2 separate regions of the Homo sapiens genome follow, and region 2 is linked to region 1. The links are contacts of gene promoters, found by promoter capture Hi-C in human tissues and cell types (Jung and others, 2019). All regions are on one chromosome and are shown on one strand. Each heading gives the region's core, a stretch centred on a gene start or on the middle of the fragment in contact. The rest is flanking DNA. Distances are from core to core; before and after follow the strand shown. Region 1 holds the start of PRLHR (prolactin releasing hormone receptor). Region 2 has its middle 64 kb from the start of PRLHR.

Evidence for each region. Contacts are between HindIII fragments. The study calls those that stand out against the background at their distance.
Region 2: a contact is called between a fragment that was not itself captured here and the fragment with the promoter of PRLHR in region 1, in 5 of the 25 tissues and cell types used here (dorsolateral prefrontal cortex, liver, spleen and 2 more).

The regions. Positions count from the first base shown.
Region 1 is chr10:118,592,348-118,597,372 of GRCh38, forward strand. PRLHR (prolactin releasing hormone receptor) reads right to left here and starts at 3,301. Exons shown (of 2, transcript NM_004248.3): 1 at 3,169-3,301; 2 at 1-2,903. The coding sequence starts at 2,897. The coding sequence ends at 1,785. RefSeq lists enhancers at 2,260-3,068, 3,069-3,877, 3,878-4,686. The HindIII fragment of the contact is 7,132 bases long and covers 1-5,025 here.
Region 2 is chr10:118,656,815-118,662,094 of GRCh38, forward strand. No RefSeq gene overlaps it. Among named protein-coding and RNA genes, the nearest start is that of PRLHR, 64 kb to the left of the region's middle. The HindIII fragment of the contact is 3,219 bases long and covers 1,264-4,482 here.

The DNA.
Region 1 (5,025 bases), core at 2,051-4,550:
TGCTGGAAGCACAGGAGCCAGTCCTCGGGATGCCTGGGAGATGAGCTTATCTGGGGCAGGGGTGGGTTGCACTATTAGCACACAGGTTCTTTGTTCTCCAATCCACGGATGAAGCTCAAGTTCATTTAGCACCATTGCCAGAGGTAACCTCCATACCCATCTTTGCCTGCCTTTTCCTTTCTCCCAAGCCAGCCTTTCCTACCCTTTACTGTGTGCAAAAAGTCTAGCCCTGTAACTACTAAAGATTCCTATGCCAACCAGCCCAACCGTGATCACTCCCACTCCCACCATGGTTGTTGACATGAATGTAATAGGATTGAACCCTTGTCATTCCCATATCATCCCTCTTTCCTTTCCTTTTAGGGCACATTTTAATGAATGAATTGAGCTTATTTCTGAATAAGAGAAGCAGGAGGAGGTGAAACAGTGATTCTTGTGTTCAGTGAGCTGGGAAAGTAGTTGAACCCTACAGATGGTGACTGAGTTACTGGGAACACAGAGGCTGATCTGACAGCTGGATATTATGTATCATTTCCCAAGACTCCTGCCCTCACTGCCCAAGTTGCTTTTCCAACAGTGTGGAGACCTTTGTCCCAAGGCACTTGTCCTCATTTACAGAACTCACAGGAGGTTAAGGTGATGATTATCAGCCTGGTATCATGCTCCACAGTCTTCACCTTTTCCCTTAACCCTGGAGGTAATTAGTGTTTGATCTACACATCATGTGGGTGGTAGCTTATTCTTCTGTTCTGTCCTTAAGTAAACTTCTGCCGGTCCTTGATTTCTGGGTTGATCATGTTCCAAGAATCACTACAGAGCAGGTGCTGAGCAGTCAGATGACAGCTGTTGATCTGTTGCAAGTGAGCAATTAGAGACTGCAGGAGAATGCCACGCTACACAGTTTACATTGAGTATTCAGAAAACCAAATATTTGAGTGCCCACTTTGTGGCAAACACTGAATGTGTACCCACACATACACACACATACACAAACACACATACACAGAGGATGTCTGTCCTTAGGTACAATTGAATGACCTCTTAAGTGAATTGGACCTTTTCCTCTTTATTTATCTATCTCTTCATTGACTAATTCGTCTCATCATTTTTAAATAGTAGTTGGGGAGGAAAGGGGAGAAACAATAGCAAGACCTTTCTAAAGGGAGCTTGTAGGTGTTTTTGTACTATAAACTCAAGTGGTTTTAAAACGAAACCCTTTTGGCATATAAAGGTCTTACTCAGGAAATGCTGAAATCCTAGATGTAGAGTTTTAATACATATTTACCTGAAATTCTAGGAATGCAAGGGTTCAAATGGACTAAGCAATATCATGGTACTCTCAGCTGGGTCCTTTTTCTAAAGGCAAACTGAAAATCTTTACCAAGCCCAATGCATTCCTTTTAAATCCCATTCATATTGTTCATTTCACCAACGAGCAGGAGGAGGGGACGCCAGGAAGGCAATCGTGGTTCTGAAATACTTTTCTGAACGTGGAGAAAAAGTTTTGTTTGTCCTTCAAGGGCATAAAGAAGAAATAAGAAATCCTCTTCCCTCTCTTTGGCCTCCCCCAAGCAAAGAGCAAGACTCTCACCAAAGCCCGCTTAACATTTTACAAACACACAAGGACAAGACAGACAGCCGGACAAGAGGGCTGGGCTGGAAATGTTGCCCTATGTTGGCTTAGCTAGCTCTGGTGCTGAGAATAAGCACCAGATTGACCTCGAGTGGTGCCCTAGGAGGCCAGTTGAAGTGGAGCTCCTTGACCAAGGCCTGGCTAAGTGGCATCAGATGACCACGCTGACGGTCATATTCTGGCCATGGGGGGCTATCTTGCGGGGCCAAGCGACCAACAGTTTGCGCAGCTCCTCGCGGAAGCTGTCGTGCAGCCAGGCGTAGATGAAGGGGTTGTAGCAGGCCGAACTCATGGCGAGCCAGTGGCAGAGCAGCTGCACCAGCCCAAAGGCGTAAGGGTCGATGGCGTGGGGGTCGAGGTCCCGCAGCAGGTTGAAGACGTGCAGCGGCAGCCAGCAGACGGCGAACACCACCACGATCACCACCAGCAAGCAGAAGGTGCGCCGGCGCCGAGCGCGGTCCCAGTCGGCCTGGCTCTGGGTCACGCAGCCCGGCACCACGCGGTTGCGGAGCTTCACTGACACCCGGACGTAAGACAGGAGGATGACCAGCAGAGGGAGCAGGTAGGTGACCAGCAGCAGCCCCCAGGCGTAGAGCTGGCGCTGGCGCTCCTGGGAGCCCCAGAACTCCTCGCAGAGGCGCACGTCGTGCGGCTTGAGCTCCACGTGATAGGTGTGCACGGCGGCGGGCAGCGCCAGCACCGCGGACAGCGCCCAGATGGCCAGCACAGCGTAGGCGCTGAGGCGCAGCGAGATGCGCCGCCTCAGCGGGTGCACCAGCACGACGTAGCGGTCCACTGCGATGGTGGTGAGCGTGAACACCGACACATAGACGGTGACCGGCTGCAGGAAGAAGACCAGGTGGCACAGGCCGCCGCCGAACACCCAGCCGCGTGGCTCGAAGGCATAGGCCAGCGTGAGCGGCACGCAGGCGGTGCACATGAGCACGTCGGACAAGGCCAGGTTGCCGATGAGGAAGTTCGTCACGTTGTGCAGCCGGCGCACCCGCGCGATCACCAGCACCAGCAGGCAGTTGCCCACCAGCCCCACGACCACCACGACGCTGTAGAGCAGCACGATCAGCCCCTTCAGCTGATGCACCAGCTGCAGGCTCTGGAAGGGCGTGACGGCTGGAGCGTCCGCGCCAGCCACCGACCCGTTGCCCGCCGAGGCCTCTGCGCTCTGGTTGGCGGGAGTTGTGACCGCCGGCGGCAGCCCAGAAAATAAGTCAGAAACCCTGGGGCCCCGAGTGGTCGATGAGGCCATGGCCACCTGTTCAAAGGTAATCAAAGTCCGTCACTTCCCTTGCCATACTCCATCCGACCTCCTACACCAGCCGCGCCCCTCCCCCATCGCCTGAGTCCTCCCTTGGGAATAACCGGCCACAGAACAACAGCAAAAGTAGCAAAAAGTGTTGTCCTCTCACCTCTGTAAAATAAACCTAAGCACGGTTAGAACATACGGTTTATTTAAACGCTTCCGCCTCTATTTACGGTCCTCGCAGTCCACGCAGGCAGACTCAGGAGCGCGATCCTACCTGGGAGTGGGGTTTGGAGAGCGGGAAAGCACTCGCGGGAAGAAGGGGCAGAATTTCTGCTGGCCCTCGGTAGTCCTCTGCCCACGTCGGTGATCCGGTCTCGCTTCTCCGCGGGAGCTGAACGGATCCAAATGTTTCCCAGTGGGCTAGCAGCTTCTTAGAGGGACTGGGAGCGCCTCCCCTCAGCTCCGCCCCCCACTCCAGCTCCCATGTATGGAAAATAGGGGTGGAGCGCGCTCTGCCATGCTCGGTGCTTAGAGAACTAGTGAAGAGGACAGTGTGGGGAGGATGGAATCCGAAACGGGAGGAGGGGCCGGCAAACCTGGCCAGAGCAGCGAAGAGGACGAATCTCTACTGCAGGAGCTTGCACGGCCCCTGGAGGGTCAGGGTCCGGAGGAGCGCACAGTGGAGGAGGGCGGAGGAGAGGCGCGAAGCGTCAGGCTATCGGGAGGAGCCGGTGCAGTCTTAGGAGGGAAGGAGCGGGGAAGGAAGTAGCGGTGGGAGATTGCAATGCAGCTGGGGGCTTGAGAGAGGCACGACTGACCCGTTCTTAAAGGCTGGATCCTGCCTAGCGGCCAGGTTGCGGAGGGCAGAGACGCTAGAGGGCTCGGGCTGGGATTTAACAGCAGAGCCTGGAGCTGGTCGCGGACCTGAGGACCCTCACCCTCCCGTGGCCCCGCCACACGAGCCCCCTGCTTGGCTGCAGCGCGCTCAGCGGGCAGCGGGTCCGGCCAAGCCAAAGGCAGGAGTCAGCACCACGGACAGCTTCCGCTGGATCTGCCGCCCCTCGGGCGGATGATGTGGGGAGGAGCAGGGGAAAATGACTAGGGAATTCCTGCCCCTCTCTGGATCCGGGTGTTTGGGGAAGGAACCTGGTCCGGTTCAAAGACCTGCCTCGCTGCCTGCTTTCTGGGCTGGGGCTGAGAAGAGTAGGGTGGAGTGGAGGCAGCTGAGCCGGGGGCCTGGGGGTCGGAGACTCATGACTTTTGCTCCTCTTGGTGGTCACCGCACTCAGTGCCAAGGACGGCGTCGTCTTTTACCTCCCGGGGTCAGAAAATGCAGCTCTCCTGCCAGTTATTCTACACAGGCACACTTCAGTCTGGCCCAGCGACTCCCCGGCTCACCCTTTCTCTCGCTTTCTTTCTCGGCTACCGCGACCTGTGCCGTATCTGGCTGCTTCTCCCAGCACAGAGTAGTTCCTGGACTGAGACTTGACCCCTCCCTCCTTGACTGAACACCCACAGGCCTCTTCTCTTCATTTTAGGATTTTTTAAAAATACTGGTAATTGCAGATTTCAGCTAGGGTAACAAAAGTAACAAACATTTGAGAAGCTTAGGCGTTTCATAAAATCTTCAGTAGTATTAAGTCCTCATTGAAATGCAAATTAGCCTGGCCCACGGGGCAAGAGCCAGGGGAGGAGGGGCCTTTGTAAGCTCCCTCCTTAGAAGCTATCTCATTCCCTCAGCCTCTTGTTTCCTTTTTCCAGAGCATGGAGCTTCATTGTCTCCTCTCTGATAAGTCCTTGTACTTTGTCCTCTGGCTGCAGATATTCCAGTTAGACTGGAAACTAATATCAATTTATTCCACCCTCCAAATTTAAATGAATCACTCATATAGAAAAAAGTCAATATTGGAACAAAAGTAATCAATGTTATGCACCTCTGTCCATCCTAAGCTCACGGTCCCTGAGTTATAATCAATTTAGCTAAAACCAGTGTGTGTGTATATATACATGTATATGTTAGGACAAGATCTCACTCTGTCACCCAGGCTGGAGTGCAGTGGCACAATCATGGCTCACTGCAGCCTCAACCTCCCAGGCCAAAGCCATCCTCCCACCTCTCAGCCTCTCAAGT
Region 2 (5,280 bases), core at 1,623-4,122, 64 kb after region 1:
CTCTTTGTCTCTTTTAACTGCTGTTGCTTTAGTTTGTTTTGTCTAAGAATAGTTACCCCTGCTTGCTCTTGTTGTCCATTTGCATGAATTGCCTTTTTCCACGCCTTTACTTTAAGTTTATGTGAGTCCTTATGTGTTAGGTGAGTCTCCTGAAGGCAGCAGACAGTTTGTTGGTGAGTTCTTATCCATTCTGAGGTTCTGTATTTAGGCCATTTACATTCAATGTTAGTATTGAAATGTGAGGTACTGTTGCATTCGTCATGCTCTTTATTGCCTGTGTACTTTGGGTTTTTTTGTTTTTGCTTTTTAATTTGTATTTTTGTTTATAGTTCCTGTGTGATTTGTGCTTTAAAGAGGCTCTGTTTTGATGTGTTTCCAGGATTTGTTTCAAGATTTAGAGCTCCTTTTAGCAGTTCTTGTAGTGGTGGCTTGGTAATGGCAAATTCTCTCAGCATTTGTTTGTCTAAAAATGACTGTATATTTCCTTCATATATGATGTTTAGTTTCGCTGGATACAAAATTCTTGGCTGATAATTGTTTTGTTTGAGGAGGCTAAAGATATGGCTCCAGTCCCTTCTAGCTTGTTGGGTTTCTGCTGAGAAATCTGCTGTTAATCTAATAGATTTTCCTTTATAGGCTACCTGGTGCTTCTGTCTCACAGCTCTTAAGATTATTTCCTTCACCTTAACTTTGGATAACCTGATGACAATGTGCAATGAATTTCCCAGGTGTTCTTTGTGTTTCTTGTATCGCATGTCTAGGTCTCTAGCAAGGCCGGGGAAGTTTTCTTCGATTATTCTCCCAAATATGTTTTCCAAGCTTTTAGAATTGTCTTTTTCCTCAGGGATGTTGATTATTCTTAGGTTTGGTTATTTGACATAATCTCAGACTTCTTGGAGGCTTTGTTCATATTTTCTTATTCTTTTTTCTTTGTCTTTGTTGGATTGGGTTAATTCGAAGACCTTGTCTTCAAGCTCTGAATTTCTTTCTTCTACTTGTTCAATTCTATTGCTGAGACTTTCCAGAGCATTTTGCATTTCTAAAAATGTGTCCAAAGTTTCCTTAATTTTTTATTGTTTTTTCTTTAAGCTATCTATTTCCTTGAATATTTCTCCCTTCACTTCCTATATCATTTTTTGGATTTCCTGGCATTGGGCTTCGCTTTTCTCTGGTCCCTCCTTAATTAGCTTAATAACTAACCTCTGGAATTCTTTTTCAGGTAAATCAGGGATTTCTTCTTGGTTTGGATCCATTGCTGGTGAACTAATGTGATTTTTAGGGGGCGTTGACAAGCCTTGTTTTGTCGTATTACCAGGGTTGGTTTTCTGGTTCCTTCTCATTTGGGTAGGCTCTGTCAGAGGGAAGGTCTAGGGCTGAAGGCTGCTGTTCAGATTTTTTTGTACCATGGGGTGTTCCTTTGCTGTAGACTCTCCCCCTTTTCCTGTGGATGTGGCTTCCTGTGAGCTGAACTGCAGTGATTGTTATCTCTCTTCTGGGTCTAGCCACCCAGCTAGTCTATTGGGCTCTGGGCTGGTACTGGGGGTTGTCTGCACAGAGTCCCGTGATGTGAACTGTCTAAGGGTCTCAGCCACCAGTGCCTGTTCTGATGGAGGTGGCAGAGTGTGCAATGGACTCCATGAGGGTCCTTAGCTTTGGTGGTTTAATGCTCTATTTTTGTGCTGGTTGGCCTCCTGCCAGGAGGTGAAGCTTTCCAGAAAGCATCAGCTGTAGTAGTGTGGAGAGGGACTGGCAGTGGGTGAAGCCCTAGAACTCCCAAGATTATATGCCCTTTGTCTTTCCCTACCAAGGTGGATAGGGAAGGACCATCGGGTGGGTTGGAGATAGGCATGTCTAAGCTCAGACTCTCCTCAGGCAGGTCTTGCTGCAGCTGCTGTGGGAGATGGGAGTGAGATTCCCAGGTCACTGGAGTTGTGTACCTCAGAGGATTATGGCTACCTCTGCTGAGTGATGCAGGTTGTCAGGGAAGTGGGGGAAAGCCAGCAGTCACAGGCCTCACCCAGCTCCCACACAAACTGAAGGGCTGGTCTCACTCCCACTGTGCCCCCACAGCAATAGCCCTGAGTCTATTTCTAAGCAGAGGGCAAGATGGGCTTGAAAACTTGCCCAAGGCTTTCTGCCTCCCAGCTGCGAAAGAAAAGGACTTTAGTTCTTCCCCTGCCTGTGAGGTCTGCAAGCAGGATTCACACCCTTCCTCCAGTTCTGGCAAGGAGGCTTCTCGCCTGGTTCAAATGGTTACAAAGTTCAGCCAAAGAATTCCTTCACCCTGTGGAGTTTCACCCCGTGGAGTTTCACCCCCTGCTCCTCTGGCCACCCTCCTGATGGATCCCTGTGGTGCCAGCAGGGATGAGCTGCTTGGGGACCCAGCAAGCTCCCAGGGCCTTTCTGTGGCTTCCTCTACCCCTGTATTTCACTTGGCTCGGTTCTCTAACTTGATTTAGCTCCAGGTAAAGTTGGAAACTTCTCCTGCCAACAGATCTTCGGCTTCTCCAGTTGAGGAGTTGTGTTTGGGAGAGGAGGGTCTCCCTTTCCCACTTCCACAGTTGGGGCACTCTCAGTATTTGCAGTGTCTCCATGGGTCCTGCAGGAGCAGTCTGCTTTCTTCAGAAGGTCTGTGGGTCCTCTCAGGATTGCTGGTTTGTTCTTGCAGTCAATCTGGAGCTAAAATTCAGTGCAAGCCTCCGCATGCTGCTCTGTCCGGAGCTGCAATCTAGACCTGCCTCCCATCTGCCACGATCCTGAAATCTGTTTGTTTTAATTTCATTTAGTTCTGCTCTGATCTTAGTTGTTTCTTTTCTTCTGCTGGGTTTGGGTTTGGTTTTTGTTTCTATAGTTCCCTGAGGTGTGACCTTAGATTGTCTATTTTTTGATGTAACTTTTTGTGACTTTTTGATGTGGGCATTTAATGCTATAAACTTTCCTCTTAGCACTGCTTTTGCTGTATCCCAGAGTTCTGATAGATTGTGTCACTATTACTGTTCAGTTCAAAGAATCTTTAAATTTCCATCTTCATTTCATTGTTGATACAATGATCATTCAGGTGCAGGTCATTTAATTTCCATGTATTTGCATGGTTTTGAGGGTTCCTTTTGGAATTGATTCCCAATTCCACTGTGGTGTGAGAAAGTACTTGATGTAATTCCAATTTCTTAAATTTGTTGAGACTTGTTTGTGGCCTATCATATGGTCTATCTTGGAGAATGTTCCATGTGCTGAAGAAAACAATGTATATACTGCAGTTGTTGGTAGAATGTTCTGTAAATATCTGTTAATTCCATTTGTTCTAGGGTATAGTTTAAGAGCATTGTTTCTTTGTTGACTTTCTGTCTTAATGACCTGCCTAGTGCTGTCAGTGGTGTACTGAATTGCATTCCCCCACTATTATTGTGTTGCTCTCTATCTCATTTCTTAGGTCTATTAGTAATGGTTTTAAAAATTTGGGAGCTCCAGCTGGGCACGGTGGCTCATGTCTTTAATCCCAGCACTTTGGGAGGCCGAGATGGGCAGATCACAAGGTCAGGAGATCAAGACCATCCTGGCTAACACAGTGAAACCCCGTCTCTACAAAACTACAAAAAATTAGCTGGGCGTGGTGGCAGTTGCCTATAATCCCAGCTACTCGGGAGGCTGAGGCAGGAGAATCACTTGAACCCGGGAGATGGAGGTTGTAGTGAGCCGAGATCACACCACTGCACTCCAGCATGGGTGACAGCAAGACTTCATCTCAAAAAAATAAAATAAAATAAAAAATAAAAAATAAAAAGTTGGGAGCTCCAGGGTTAGGTGCATATATACTTAGGAATGTGATATTATCCTGTTGCACTAGTCCTTTTATAATTATATAATGTTCTTCTTTGTCTTTTTTAACTGCTGTTGCTTTAAAGTTTGTTTTGTCTGATCCAAGAATAGCTATGCTCACTTTTGGTGTTCATTTGCATGGAATATCTTTTTCCACTCCTTTATCTTAAGTTTATGTGAATCCTTATGTGTCAGGTGAGTCTCTTGAAGACAGCAGATACTTGGTGAATTCTCATCCATTCTGCCATTCTGTATCTTTTAAGTGGAGCATTTACACCATTTACATTCAATGTTAGTATTGAGATGTGAGGTACTTTTCTATTCATCATGCTATTTGTTGCCTGAATACTTTGGATTTTTTTTCATTATGTTATGTGTTTTATAGGGCCTGTAAGATTTATGCTTTAAGGAGATTCTATTTTGGTGTATTTTGAGGATTTCTTTCAAGATTTAGAGCTCCTTTTAGCAGTTCTTGTAGTGCTGGGTTGGTGGTGGCAACTTCTGTCAGCATTTGTATCTTTCCTTCCTTTATGAAGCTTAGTTTCACTGGATACAAAATTCTTGGCTGACAATTGTTTTGTTTCAGGAGGCTAAAGATAGGACCCCAATCCCTTCTAGCTTGTAGGGTTTTTGCTGTGAAGTCCGCTGTAATCTGATAGGTTTTCCTTTATAAATTACCTGATGCTTTTGCCTCACAGCTCTTAAGATTCTTTCCGTCATCTCGACTTTAGATAACTTGATGACTGTGTACCTGGGTGATGATCTTTTTGCAATGAATTTCCCAGGTGTACTTTAAGCTTCTTGTATTTGGATGTCTAGATCTCTAACAAGGCCAGGGAAGTTTTCCTCAATTATTCCATCAAATATGATTTCCAAACTTTTAGATTTCCCTTCTTCCTCAGGAACACCACATATTCTTAGGTTTGGCTGTTTAACATAATCCCAAATTTCTTGGAGGCCTTGTTCATTTTTTAATTATTATTATTCTTTTTTTCTTTGTCTTTGTCTGATTGCGTTAATTTGAAAATCTTCTTTGAGCTCTGAAGTTGTTTCTTCTACTTGTTGGATTCTATTGCAGAGACTTTCCAGTGCATTTTGCATTTCTTTAAGTGGAGTCCATTTCCAGAAGTTGTGATTATTTATTTATGCTATCTATCTCACTGGAGATTTTTCCATTCATATTCTGTGTCATTTTTTTTTTAATTTAAGTTGGACTTCACCCCTCTCTGATGCCTCCTTGATTAGTTTAATGATCAACCTTCTGAATTCTTTTTCTGGCAATTCAGAGATTTCTTCTTGGTTTGGACCCATTGCTGGTGAGCTAGTGTGATCTTTTGGAGGTGTTAAAGAACACTGTTTTGTCGTATTACCAGAATTGTTTTTCTGGTTCCTTCTCATTTGGGTAAGACTGTGTCAGAGGGAAAATCTGGAACTCAAGGGCTGCTGTTCAGATTCTTGTGTCCC